Linked DNA regions of Homo sapiens: regions 1 and 3 are each linked to region 2. Evidence: promoter capture Hi-C in human tissues and cell types (Jung and others, 2019). All regions are on one chromosome and are shown on one strand. The core of a region is centred on a gene start or on the middle of the fragment in contact, and the rest is flanking DNA. Distances in the headings are between cores, read along the strand shown.

Region 1 (3,831 bases), core at 734-3,233, 360 kb before region 2:
TGATGTCTGGATTCATCACACACAGTTAAATCTTTGTTTTGATTCAGGAGGTTGAAAACACTGTTTCTGGAAAATCTATAGAAGGCAGGTTGGAAACACTTTTTTTTGTAGAACCTATGAAGAGACACTTTGGAACCCATTGAGGCCTGTAGTAAAAATACAAATGTCCCATGATGAAAACTAGAAAAAGTTTTATGTGAAAATGCTTTGCAATGAGTGGATTCATCTCCCAAGGTTAAAGCTTTGTTTTGATTTAGCAGATTAGAAGCACTATTTATGGAGAATCTACGAAGGGACATTTAAAGCCCATTGAGGCCTCTTTTAAAAAATCGAATGTCCCACAATGAAAACTAGAGATAAGCTATCTGTGAAAATGCTTTGTGATGTATGGATGCATCTCCCAGAGTTAAACCTTTGTTTTTATTCTGCAGGTTGCAGACAGTCTAATTCTGGAATGTGTTAAAAGACATTTCAGGGCCCATTGAGAACTATAATAAAAAAACAAATATTCCTTGATAAAAACTAGAAAAATCTATCAGTGAAAATCCTTTGTGTTGTGTGGATTCAACTGAGAGTTAAAATTGTTTTGATTCAGCAGGTTGGAAAAACTCTTTCTTAGAATCTATAAAGCAACATTTCACAGCCCATAGAGGCCTATAGTTGTAAAACTAAATATTCTGCTATAAAAACAGGAAACAAGCTATCTGTGAAAATACTTTCCAATGTGTGGATTTATCTCACAAAGTTAAACCTTTGTTTTGTTACAGCAAGTAGAAAACAATCTTTTTGAAGAACATTCAAAGGAATATTTTGAAGCCAATTGAGGCCTGCAGTGGAAAACAAAATATCTTATCATAAAAACTTGAAACAAGTTATCTGTGAAAATGCTTTGTGATGTGTTCATTCGTCTGACAGAGATAAACCTTTATTTTGATTCAGCAGGTTGGAAACACTCTTTTTGTAGAATCTAGGAAGAAACATTTTGGAGCCCATTGAGGCCTATAGAGAAAAACCTAATATCCTGTGATAAAATCTAGAAACAAAATGTCTGTGAAAATGTTTTATGATGTGTGAATTCATCTATCAGAGATAAAACTTTTTTTGATTCAGCAGGTTGGAAAAACTCTTTGTAGAATCTATAAAGGGATATTTCAGAGCCCATTGAGGCCTACTGTGGAAAACCAAATATTCTGCAATAGAAACTAGAAACAAGCTATCTGTGTACATGCTTTGCCATGTGTGGGTTCATCTTACAGAGTTAAACCTTTGTTTTGATTCAGCAGGTTGAAAACCTTCTTTTAATAGAATCTACAAAGGGATGTTTCAAAGTACATTAGAGGCTATACTGAAAAACCTAATACCAGTGATTAAAACTAGCAGCAAGCTACCTGTGAAAATGCTTTCTGATATGTGGATTTGTCTCACAAACTTAAACCTTTGTTTTGATTCAGCAGGTTGGCAACACTCTTTTTGTACAACCTATGAAGGGACATTTTGTAGCTCACTGAGGCCTATAGTGAAAAAATGAATATTTCAAGATAAAAATTAGAAACAAGCAATATTTGAAAATGTTGGTGGTGGGTGGATTCTTCTCACAGAGGTAAACCTTTATATTGATTCAGCACGTTGGAAACACTCTTTTTAAAGAATCTACAAAAGGACATTTTGGAGCCCACTGACAAGTATATTGAAAAACTGAATATGCCACGATACATACTAGCAACAATCTATTAGTGAAAATGCTTTGTGATGTGTGGATTCATCTCACAAAGTTTAACCTTTATTATCATTCGGTAGGTTGAGAACACTCTTTATGTAGCATATACAAAAAAAAAAGATATTTTCGTGAACATTGAGGACTAAAGTAAAACACCAAATATTTCACAGTAAAAACTAAAAACTGTCTATCTGTGAAAATGCTTTGTGAAGTGTGGATTTATCTCACAGAGTTAAACCTTTGTTTTGATTCAACAGGATGAAAACACTTTTTTGTAGAATCTATGAAGGGACATTTCAGAGCCTATTGTGGACTATACTGAAAAACCTAATATCCTGGCATAAAAACTAGAAAGAAGCTATCTTTGCAAATTATTTGCGATGTGTGGATTTATCTTACAGAGATAAACCTTTTTGTATCAGTTAAACCTTTTTTTTATTCCCCGCAAGTTGGAGTCCTCCCACCTGACCATGGGGCCATGTTGTGGACAGCTTGTGCAATGAAGGGAATGCAAGGGTGGAGTTGGAAGCACTTCGTGTGTCATCTGTCTGCACCTTTTTTTGCAGATGAAGGTGCAGACCCCATCCACACCTCAGCAGACTGTATGCTCACCCATATCTGAACTTATTGCTGCTCACACTCCTAGTTCTAGAATGAAATCCCAAGATGTTGGAGGAGTGCTCCCTTCATGACATGAAGCACCTGCTCGGCTGCAAACAGAATTCGAATTGGATTCAAGCGGCCTGTGGACAGGACTGCTAGAGTCACACCCTGGGTTGACCACAGGACAATGAGGCCCTGACAGGTGTCTTCTTCTGAGAGTGGTGTGCTCCTCTTCTTTCTAGAAGAATGGCTCCTTTGTATGGGGAGGTGATTTGTACACCTGTGAGTCTCAACCATCCCCCCAACTCACCGTGGACTCAGGAACCACGGAAAAACAAAGAACATGCAGCCCCATAGGCCAAGCAGAGCCACACAGACAGGTGCACCAGAAGGTGGAGGGACTAGAAAAAAAAGTGCTGCAGTGCATTAAACACATTCCTTTTAGCAGATGCCCCTCACACACACACACAGACACACACAAACACACTCACATACAGCCACACACACACACGCAGACATTCAAACACTCACAACACTCGCACAGAAACACACAGCCTGGCAGCTCCTGAGGCTGCACGGTTCTGCAGAAAGCTCCTTCTGAGAGAGAGCAGCCTCAGAAAACAGAGGCGGGATGTACCTAGAAATCACAGGGAGGGAAGTTTCAAAAAGACTCACTCCCACACTGTCTAGGCAGGCCTGACTCATCGTGGGTATCCTTTTGGATCCTTAGGGATTTTGTGGTTTATTCCTGGGGCTCCACTTGATGTGTCTTCAGGCTGACTCGCCACTGCCCACTCCTAGGATTGTGGGAATATCCCATAGAGCCCTCAGAGTAGACAGGTGATAGTTCAATGCCAACACACATCCACAGAGGACTCCTTCTCCACCAAGATGAAGGGACTTGTCACCAGGTAATGGTGGCATTCACTGTGACATGAGCCACTGCTCACCACTGGTGCCTGGTGGCCTGACGGTCACATGTGCATTCACCAAGCAGGCTCGGGCACCTGGCTGTCAGGGCTGTAAGCCTGGCAAAGCTCAGGAAAATGGTACAGCCAGAGCTGGCCTAGTCTCCAGAAAAAGGCTGCCTGAAGCAACCCACTGCAGCACGCTAATAGTCTCGAACATAGGGCCTTCATGAGACATCTCCATGGTAGGGTCCCACAGGAGAAGGAGGAGTTTGAAGACTGTGAGGTGAGCTCTGGAGACTGGTCTTCTGACTCCATTCCCAAAAGAGGCTGTGTGCATGAATTGGGTCTCCTGGGGATGGGAATAAAGTCTGGTGAGTTGTTAAGAGGTCTCTGGGTGATGGAATAATATCTGAGATCCAAGTGGCAGGTGTCAGTGGAAGATGGCCAGGCCCTTGAACCCCCTGCCTTCCTTCATCCCAGGCCTCACAGGGGCTCCTGCTTCTCAGCACAGCTCTCTGGGAAAGGCAGAAACCACGACAAAGGCAAGTCCAAGGTGGAGCAGTGTTCTCACACCTAAAACAGGCCTCTCGTGGGCGCACA
Region 2 (3,563 bases), core at 607-3,106:
TTCCTGTGCCTATAGTTTTATGCTAAATTGATTCTGACATTTCAGGCAATTAAAAGTAACTCCAATTAATTCACCATAATTTTGGCTGATTGCTAATCTAAATGTCCACAATTGATAGGCTAGCCCTATACGTCAATGAGGTAAGCACAGAAAGGAGTCATGGTTTTGAGGAATGCCTATGGGTTTATTCTCCACCATAGCAATGAGATGTCAACTGTGATTGTGCTCCATAAAATATAGAAACTGTAGGTAGTCTAACGCTGCAGAAGAAACTCCTATTAATATAAAGATAAACCAATTAATCTAACCTACTGAACATCAGTGGTCTGTTAAGGAGTTCCACCAGCGAGGTGAGAGACTGGCAATTTTTTTCTCTAAAGAGCTAAATAATGAATATTTTAGGATTTCCAGCCACGTGGTCTCGCTTACAATTACTCAACTCTGTCTGCTTCTGTATGGCAACAGCAGCCACAGACGATACAGAAATGAATGTGTGCGCTGTGTTCTAATGCAACTATGGGCACTAAAATTTCTTGATTTTCATGTGTAACAAAACACTGTTATTTTGATTTTTTAAATCCATTTACAAATGTAAAAATCACCCTTAGCCAGGCGCGGTGGCTCACGCCTGTAATCCCAGCTCTTTGGGAGGCCAAGACGGGTGGATCACGAAGTCAGGAGTTCGAGAACCAGCCTGGCCAACATGGTGAAACTCCGTCTCTACTAAAAATACAAAAATTAGCCGGGGGGTGGTGGCATGCGCCTGTAATCCCAGCTACTCAGGAGGCTGAAGCCGGAGAATTGCTTGAACCCGGGAGGCGGAGGTTGCAGTGAGCCAAGATCGTGCCACTACACGCCAGACTGGGTGACAGAGCAAGACTCCATCTCGAAAATAAAAATAAAAATAAATTAAAAAATAAAAAAAACCACTTAGCTCACTGGCTAAACAAAATCAGGTAATTGGCCTGTACCTGACAGTCAATTTCTGGTCACTAATGATGACCACATATCCAAATTACAGTAAAGGTACCCAAGAGAGACAAAGATTAGAGATTAGTGTTACGATCCCCGTTCTGCCAGCACTAGGAGACAAGAGTTGCTACAGCCCTTCCGCGGGTTTAAAAGGCGGTCGACGTCCCTCAACCTCTTGCTATGCCTGAAAACAACCGAGTAAAAGGCATCCAAAGACCTGAGAACGCAAGGTTTCAGGAAAACAATCAGGAAGGGCAAAACATGGGGCAGCCACTACACAGCCCCTCCGTCTTAGGGCACAGGTACTAAACGGGTTGTAAGAGACCCAAGTCACATCCTTCAGAAACGTGCTGGCGCGGGCCCAGGCAGACAGGGATTCCACCCCGGCGAAGGCCGCAAATGGCGCGAGGCGGGAAGGCGCAGGCTCCACCTTCCCCCGTCCCCAGATCACCTACAGTGACCTGCGCGTACAGGCAGGCTAGGACCGCGGGCGCTCAAGGCAGACATCAGGCCCGCCGACGTCTCCGCGCCGCCCGCCCGGCCACCCGGAGAGCCTGCTGCCCAGCGCCTGGCAGCGCGGACAACCTCTCTCGGGGAGGTGATGACGGTCCCTCGCGCCGGAGGGCCCAGGGAGGAAAGAGATAAGCAGAAAGACACCAGGGAAGAACACCACGCTTCGGACCAACGCCAGCCACAGCCACTGAGAAGTCGCCGCATCCGGCGGCGCCGACACACGTTTCCAGGGCTCTTGAGAGACCATACCCTGGGAGTCTCGCGGGATCTCACTTTTCTCGGCGGCGCAGGGAATGAGACAGATCGCGGGAATTCCACCCGCGCCGGGAGATGGTCTGGTGACTTCGCGGCTCCTCCCACGTCTCTCTGGGCAGTCCGCCTTGCGCATGCGCAGGCGGCGGTGGCAAGGCTACGGTTCGCGCCAGCGGCCGGCGCTATGGGGCTGAGCCGCGTGCGGGCGGTTTTCTTTGACTTGGACAACACTCTCATCGACACGGCCGGGGCGAGCAGGAGAGGCATGTTGGAGGTAACGTCCCCACCCATGGCGCTCCTCTGGGCGGGGTCAGTGCGCCCCGCCCCGTCCTGCACGCTCACCTCCCCTTGACCCCACTTCCACCCCGGCGCCGCGGGCCGCTCTTGCTGGTTGAAACCTGTGGAGCGTGCGGGTGCGGAGGTGGCTGGAGGCGCGCGGGCCCTGCGGGTCTGCTTTCCCTGGCCTGGCGGCCGCTTGTCACCCAATCTCGAGCCCTGGAGCGGCTGCTCGCAGGTGCCTTGGCGCTCGGGACGCGGAAGGGCTCCGTGACGGCTGCCACGGTGGCGGAGGTGCCCGTGGGCGCGGGAGGCGACAGCAAAGCCGCGAGACCAGGCGCTGGTCCCGCCCCCGGTCAGACTGTCGGTGTGGAGCTCGACAGAGGGTCGTGTCCCCCATGCGACTTTCGGGGTTGCTGGGAGGAGACATGGTAGAGTTAGCCCCAGTGTTGACCCAAGAAGGGACACGGCTGTCAGTACCGAGCCTGGACTTAAGCCCTGCTTTAGAGAATTGTCGCCGCAGAACTTCTTCTGGCCTCCCTGGCGGGGTGGTGGTCACCGTGGCTTTCTGACACGTGACACAGCAAAAGCCCGTGCTGCGAGGGCATGCCCTTCCTGAGGCGCTCCTCCGCGGCACTGCCCCTCTACACGCGCGGAGGCGCTTTCAGACCTTCCCGTGTTCCAGCCCCAGTCCACCCCGGCTTCCCTTTCTCTACCTTCAGCTTCAAGGGGAAAGGGAAGGATTTATCAGATGTGGAAAACTCACTTTCAAAAGCTAATTCATCCAAACCTGAGCGCCCCGTCCTCTTCATGCTTCATCAGTTAGTTTTTGTGTCCCTGGATCTTCCACTACCTCATCCGTTTTCTTTTTAGCTGCATTCCACTCCTGCCGCATATTCATGTTTGCCCTATAGTTTTAAAAAAGCTGTAAAAAGGATGCCTCCCTTTGGGCTATTCTTCCTGCTGTAGATGTTGCCTGTCTCTCTTGACAGCCATGTTTTCCCGGAGAAATCTATACCCGTTATCTCCTTGTCTCTACCTCCTATTTATTACTAAATCCATCGTAATGTCGCTTTATCTTCACCGCTAGACTGAAATAGACTTGCTGGATCACTAGGCATTCCCAAAATGCCGGAATCAGTAGACATTTTTAAAGTCTGTCTTCATGACTTTACTGAGGCATTCCACACTTTTAACTTGTTGGCCTCCACCTCAGGGGTGCCACCCTGTGCCATATTGCCTCCAGTATCTCTCGCTGCAGATGTTACATATTTACCTGTGTGTTATTAGTAAGCTGAGTCCTGTGCATTTCAATTAAATTATTGCTTTAGGCCAATTCTTGCTGTAGGCCCAGAGTTTGGGCTTTAAAATCAGACATTTGAATATGAATCACAGCTCTCCCAAAACCTAGCTGAAAGTGCCTCAAGGAATTAACCACTCGGAGCCTTATATCTTCATAAAATGTGAATTATATTAGTCCTCAATAACCCTGTAATACTTGGGAAGCCCATGGTTGCAGTGTCCACTCAGCGAACTATAGCACCTTCCAC
Region 3 (3,932 bases), core at 949-3,448, 370 kb before region 2:
AGTCTCCCAAAGTGCTGGAATTACATGCGTGAGCCACCACACCTGAGCTGTATATGCCATTGTATGATTGCAAATAATTATATGAATCTTGGAGAACATCATGGAAAGATGTTCATCATCTTGTTAACTGGTTATTTCAAGAGTGGAGCTGGAAGGGGAATACTGCCTTTCCTGTGTATTTATTTGTAATGTTTCATTTTCATTATGAACATGTATTATTTTAATATGTTTAAATATTAATAAACACAGGCAAAAATATGTAATTTTAATTCAAGCTGAAATCGTCAAGGCAATCATACATAACAGATGGAGCAAATAAAACATTTAAAATCCCTGAGTGAAAAGGAGGGGAGGCTGGGCATGGTGGCTCACGCCTATAATCCCAGCACTTTGGGAGGCCGAAACAGGAAGATCACTTGGGGTCAGAAGTTTGAGACTGCCTTGGCCAACTGAGACCCCTGGACTCGATTGGAATTGGTCCCACAAACTTTTTTTTTTGAGGGAGTCTCACACTGTCACCCAGGGTGGAGTGCAATGGGGCAATCTCGGCTCACTACAACCTCTGCTCCTGGGTTCAAGTGATTCTCCTGCCTCAGCCTCCCTAGTAGCTCGGACTTCAGGTGTCCGCCACAACACCTGGCTAATTTTTTTCTATTTTTAGTAGGGACAGGGTTTCACAATGTTGGTCAGGCTGGTCTCAAACTCCTGACTTCAGGTGATCCACCAGCCTCTCAAAGTGCTAGGATTACAGGTGGGAGCCATCACACCCCACCAATCCCACAAATTTAGGCATTATGATAATCGGAGCCACCATGCCCCACCAATTACACATATTTAGGCATTATGATATATTGTTACTTTTAGAATCACTTGGTTTTTATATTGTGTTTTTTCCCTTCCATTTGTTTGTTTATTTATTTATTTATTTATTGAGACAGAGACTCGCTGTGTCACCCAGCCTGGAGTGCAGTGGCGTGATCTTGGCTCACTGCAACCTCCACCTCCCGGCACTCCATCTCCACCACACTGGCAACTAACATGCCTCCTCAGGCCCTCTCAGGGTCTAGAGAGGGCGTCTGGAACAGACTGGGAAACTCCAGTAGGCAAAGTAAGGTGCCAGAAATAAAGACACCACCTGAAACATTCTCCATGTTCCCTCCACCCACTCCTCTCCCACCACTCTTCCATCTGGCTCCAACTCTGCCCTCTCCACAAGAGCCTCAGATTGAAATGTTGCAAGGAAGACAAAGATTCTCAAAGTCACAGGCTTGGGAATCTGAGCTATAAAGAAAAATGAGCCTCTGCTCCCCCAACTCCCCCATACTCCCCTGGGCACTGCTGCCCTACATGCACCCCCTCCTCCATAATTTGAACTGTCCTCCCAGAAGCTGGAGGGAGACTGCCCGCCTGTCAGGAAAGAAAGGACCAGCATGCGGCAAATGCCTGGGCTACATAGGAGCAGACGGCGAGATTAGCGCAGGGATTTAAGAAACAAGTGGCTCTCAGACCAAAGAAGACTTGCCCGAGATGGCACACTAAGCATTCATAGGGGTGTGCGCTGGACAGGAGCTTGCCAGTTACCCAAAGAATTGTCTGAGAAAGGCTCTGATCTGGCCCGAAAGGCCCTTGGTTCCCACGGCAACTCCTCAGCGTCTGGCAGTAATAGGCTTCTGTGCCCAGACTTTCTGGGTCTGGAAGTCCCCCTCTGCCAGCCTCTTGCAGCCCAGAGGCACCTCCCATTGGCGCCTGATGGGTTAAGGAAGCTGTTCTTCTAGCTGTGACAGATCAAGCCTGAGGACCTCTCGTGTGTCTTTCTTAGTTGTTTCTTCCCGCCCACCTGCCACTCAAAGCCACAACCCACTTGCATGCCCCCGAGTGGACCCCTTAAAGCGACCATCTAGATCTGAATTGCGCTGAGGGAATGGTCAGCTTCATTCCCATTAGATGGCTTGGCCCAAAGGAACTAGCGATCGCCCAGACAAAAATGTCTTCCTAAAAGCTGGATGTGTCTGTGGTCTCTAAGAGGCAAAACCAAACCCAAAAGGAAAAGCCAACCCACCCACCCCCACCATAAAACAAAAACCAAAACCGCCGACAACCCATCTTTCACATGAGGAGTCCGTGAGAAGGGCCTCTCCAGCCAGGATCAGGTAAGGGAATCTGTGCCCTTGGCCGGACCCAGAACACCCAGTGGCAAGGAACTGACTGTCACACTCTGACCCCATAGAATTTCCACCATTGTCACACAGGTCAGGATGTGTCAGCCTGAGAGATGACACCACAAATCTGGCCTTCACAGATTGATTCCACACTCTCTCACTGATTCCACACACATCCCGCCACTGACACCAGATTCCCTCATCACTGACCCTACATACCCACAAGAATTGATTCCATGGATCTCATCACTATCCAAAAGACCACCCATCACTAATCTACAGACCCTCATCTCTCACCCCAGGGACCCCACAGATTCCCCATCCCTGATTCCAGGATCTATAGAACCTCATCTCTTACCCCCACAGACCTATTTATAAGAGGATACGTTCATGGAATACCATGTTGACCATTTTACACATCCATTGCGTGTGTGTGTGTGTGTGCTGATTAATGGACTTAGGTAAACTTTAGCATTTTGGTAGCCAATGCAGTTTTTCAATGCCTTTTCTTTTTCTTTCTTTTTCTTGTACAACTTTAAAGACCTTACTCCAGTAAGTGTGATTTGCAATTTATCAATGCCTATCTCTTATTGGGTCCTTGTCATGCATATTTGTTATTAATCATAATTCACAATTCTTACAACTCAGAGACACCAGAGTCTCACATAAGAAGAATGGCTGTGGGTTTTTATTATTGTTATTTTTTTGGTTTCTGTAGATTATAAAAGTCATTCATTTGTATCAAGTCAGTAAGTGTATATTTTGTTTTCTTAAAAAATGTAATTAAAAATATTTTTGCTGGAATGCAGTGGTATAATCATGGCCACTGCAGCCTCAACCTCCTGGGCTCCAGTGATCCTCCCACCTCAGCCTACCTACTGGCTGAGACCACAGGCATGCAACAATATACCCACCTAATTAAACATTTTTTTTTTTTTTTTGTAGAGATGGGCTTCTCACTATGTTGCAGAGATTGGACTTGAATTCCTGGGCTCAACTGATCCTCCAACCTTGGCCTCCCAAAATGTTGCAGTTAGAGGTGTGAGCCACTGCACTCAGCTGATAAGATCTTAAAAAGAGTAAAATACTTTGGGAAGTAATGTAAAATTTCCACTGAGACGATGCATCAGAAATTAAAGTAGAATAAAATGGTCCTAGGGCATCTGAAACAATGGGAACTAAGTCTTGAGCCAGGTGTGGTGGCTCATGCCTGCAATCCCAGCACTTTGGGAGGCCAAGATGGTGGACTCATTTGAGGTCAGAAGTTCGAGACCAGCCTAGCCAACACGGTGAACCACAATCCCTACTGGGAATACAAAAATTAGCTGGGAGGTTGCAGTGAGCTGAAATCGTGCCACTGCACTCCAGCCTGGGCAACAGAAGGAGACTGTCTCAAAACATAAAATAAATAAAATAAAAATAAAGAAGAAGAAGAAACAATATCTTGATTTCATCATCAAGTGTAAAAATGTGGACTCTGGAGGCACACAGGTACTCTTTTTCTCTGAAGTTTTATTAAGAAATATTAACATATCACAGAAGCCACCCATTTAAAGTGTAAAATTCAATGATTTCAGTATATTTGCACAGTTGTGCAAACATCATCACAATAAATTTTAGATCATTTTCATTACCCCAAAGTAAACCCCATATCCCTCCATTTCCCCCAACTCCCCTAACCTTGAGCCACCACTAATCTACTTTCTGTCTCTATGCATTCATGTATTTTGGACATTTTATTTAAATGGAATTACATAACGTGATATTTCATGA

The links. Contacts are between HindIII fragments. The study calls those that stand out against the background at their distance.
Region 1: a fragment that was not itself captured here is called in contact with the fragment with the promoter of NANP in region 2 in 1 of the 25 tissues and cell types used here (spleen).
Region 3: a contact is called between a fragment that was not itself captured here and the fragment with the promoter of NANP in region 2, in 1 of the 25 tissues and cell types used here (lymphoblastoid cells).

The regions. Positions count from the first base shown.
Region 1 is chr20:25,978,107-25,981,937 of GRCh38, reverse strand. No RefSeq gene overlaps it. Among named protein-coding and RNA genes, the nearest start is that of LINC01733, 24 kb to the right of the region's middle. The HindIII fragment of the contact is 3,730 bases long and covers 119-3,831 here.
Region 2 is chr20:25,622,307-25,625,869 of GRCh38, reverse strand. It overlaps NANP (N-acetylneuraminic acid phosphatase), which reads left to right and starts at 1,856. Exons shown (of 2, transcript NM_152667.3): 1 at 1,856-2,011. The coding sequence starts at 1,922. ZNF337-AS1 (ZNF337 antisense RNA 1) reads right to left here and starts at 1,825. Exons shown (of 4, transcript NR_126465.1): 1 at 1,735-1,825. RefSeq lists enhancers at 1,767-1,936, 1,908-2,583 and a silencer at 2,107-2,166. The HindIII fragment of the contact is 13,881 bases long and covers 1-3,563 here.
Region 3 is chr20:25,995,353-25,999,284 of GRCh38, reverse strand. No RefSeq gene overlaps it. Among named protein-coding and RNA genes, the nearest start is that of LINC01733, 42 kb to the right of the region's middle. The HindIII fragment of the contact is 8,751 bases long and covers 1-3,932 here.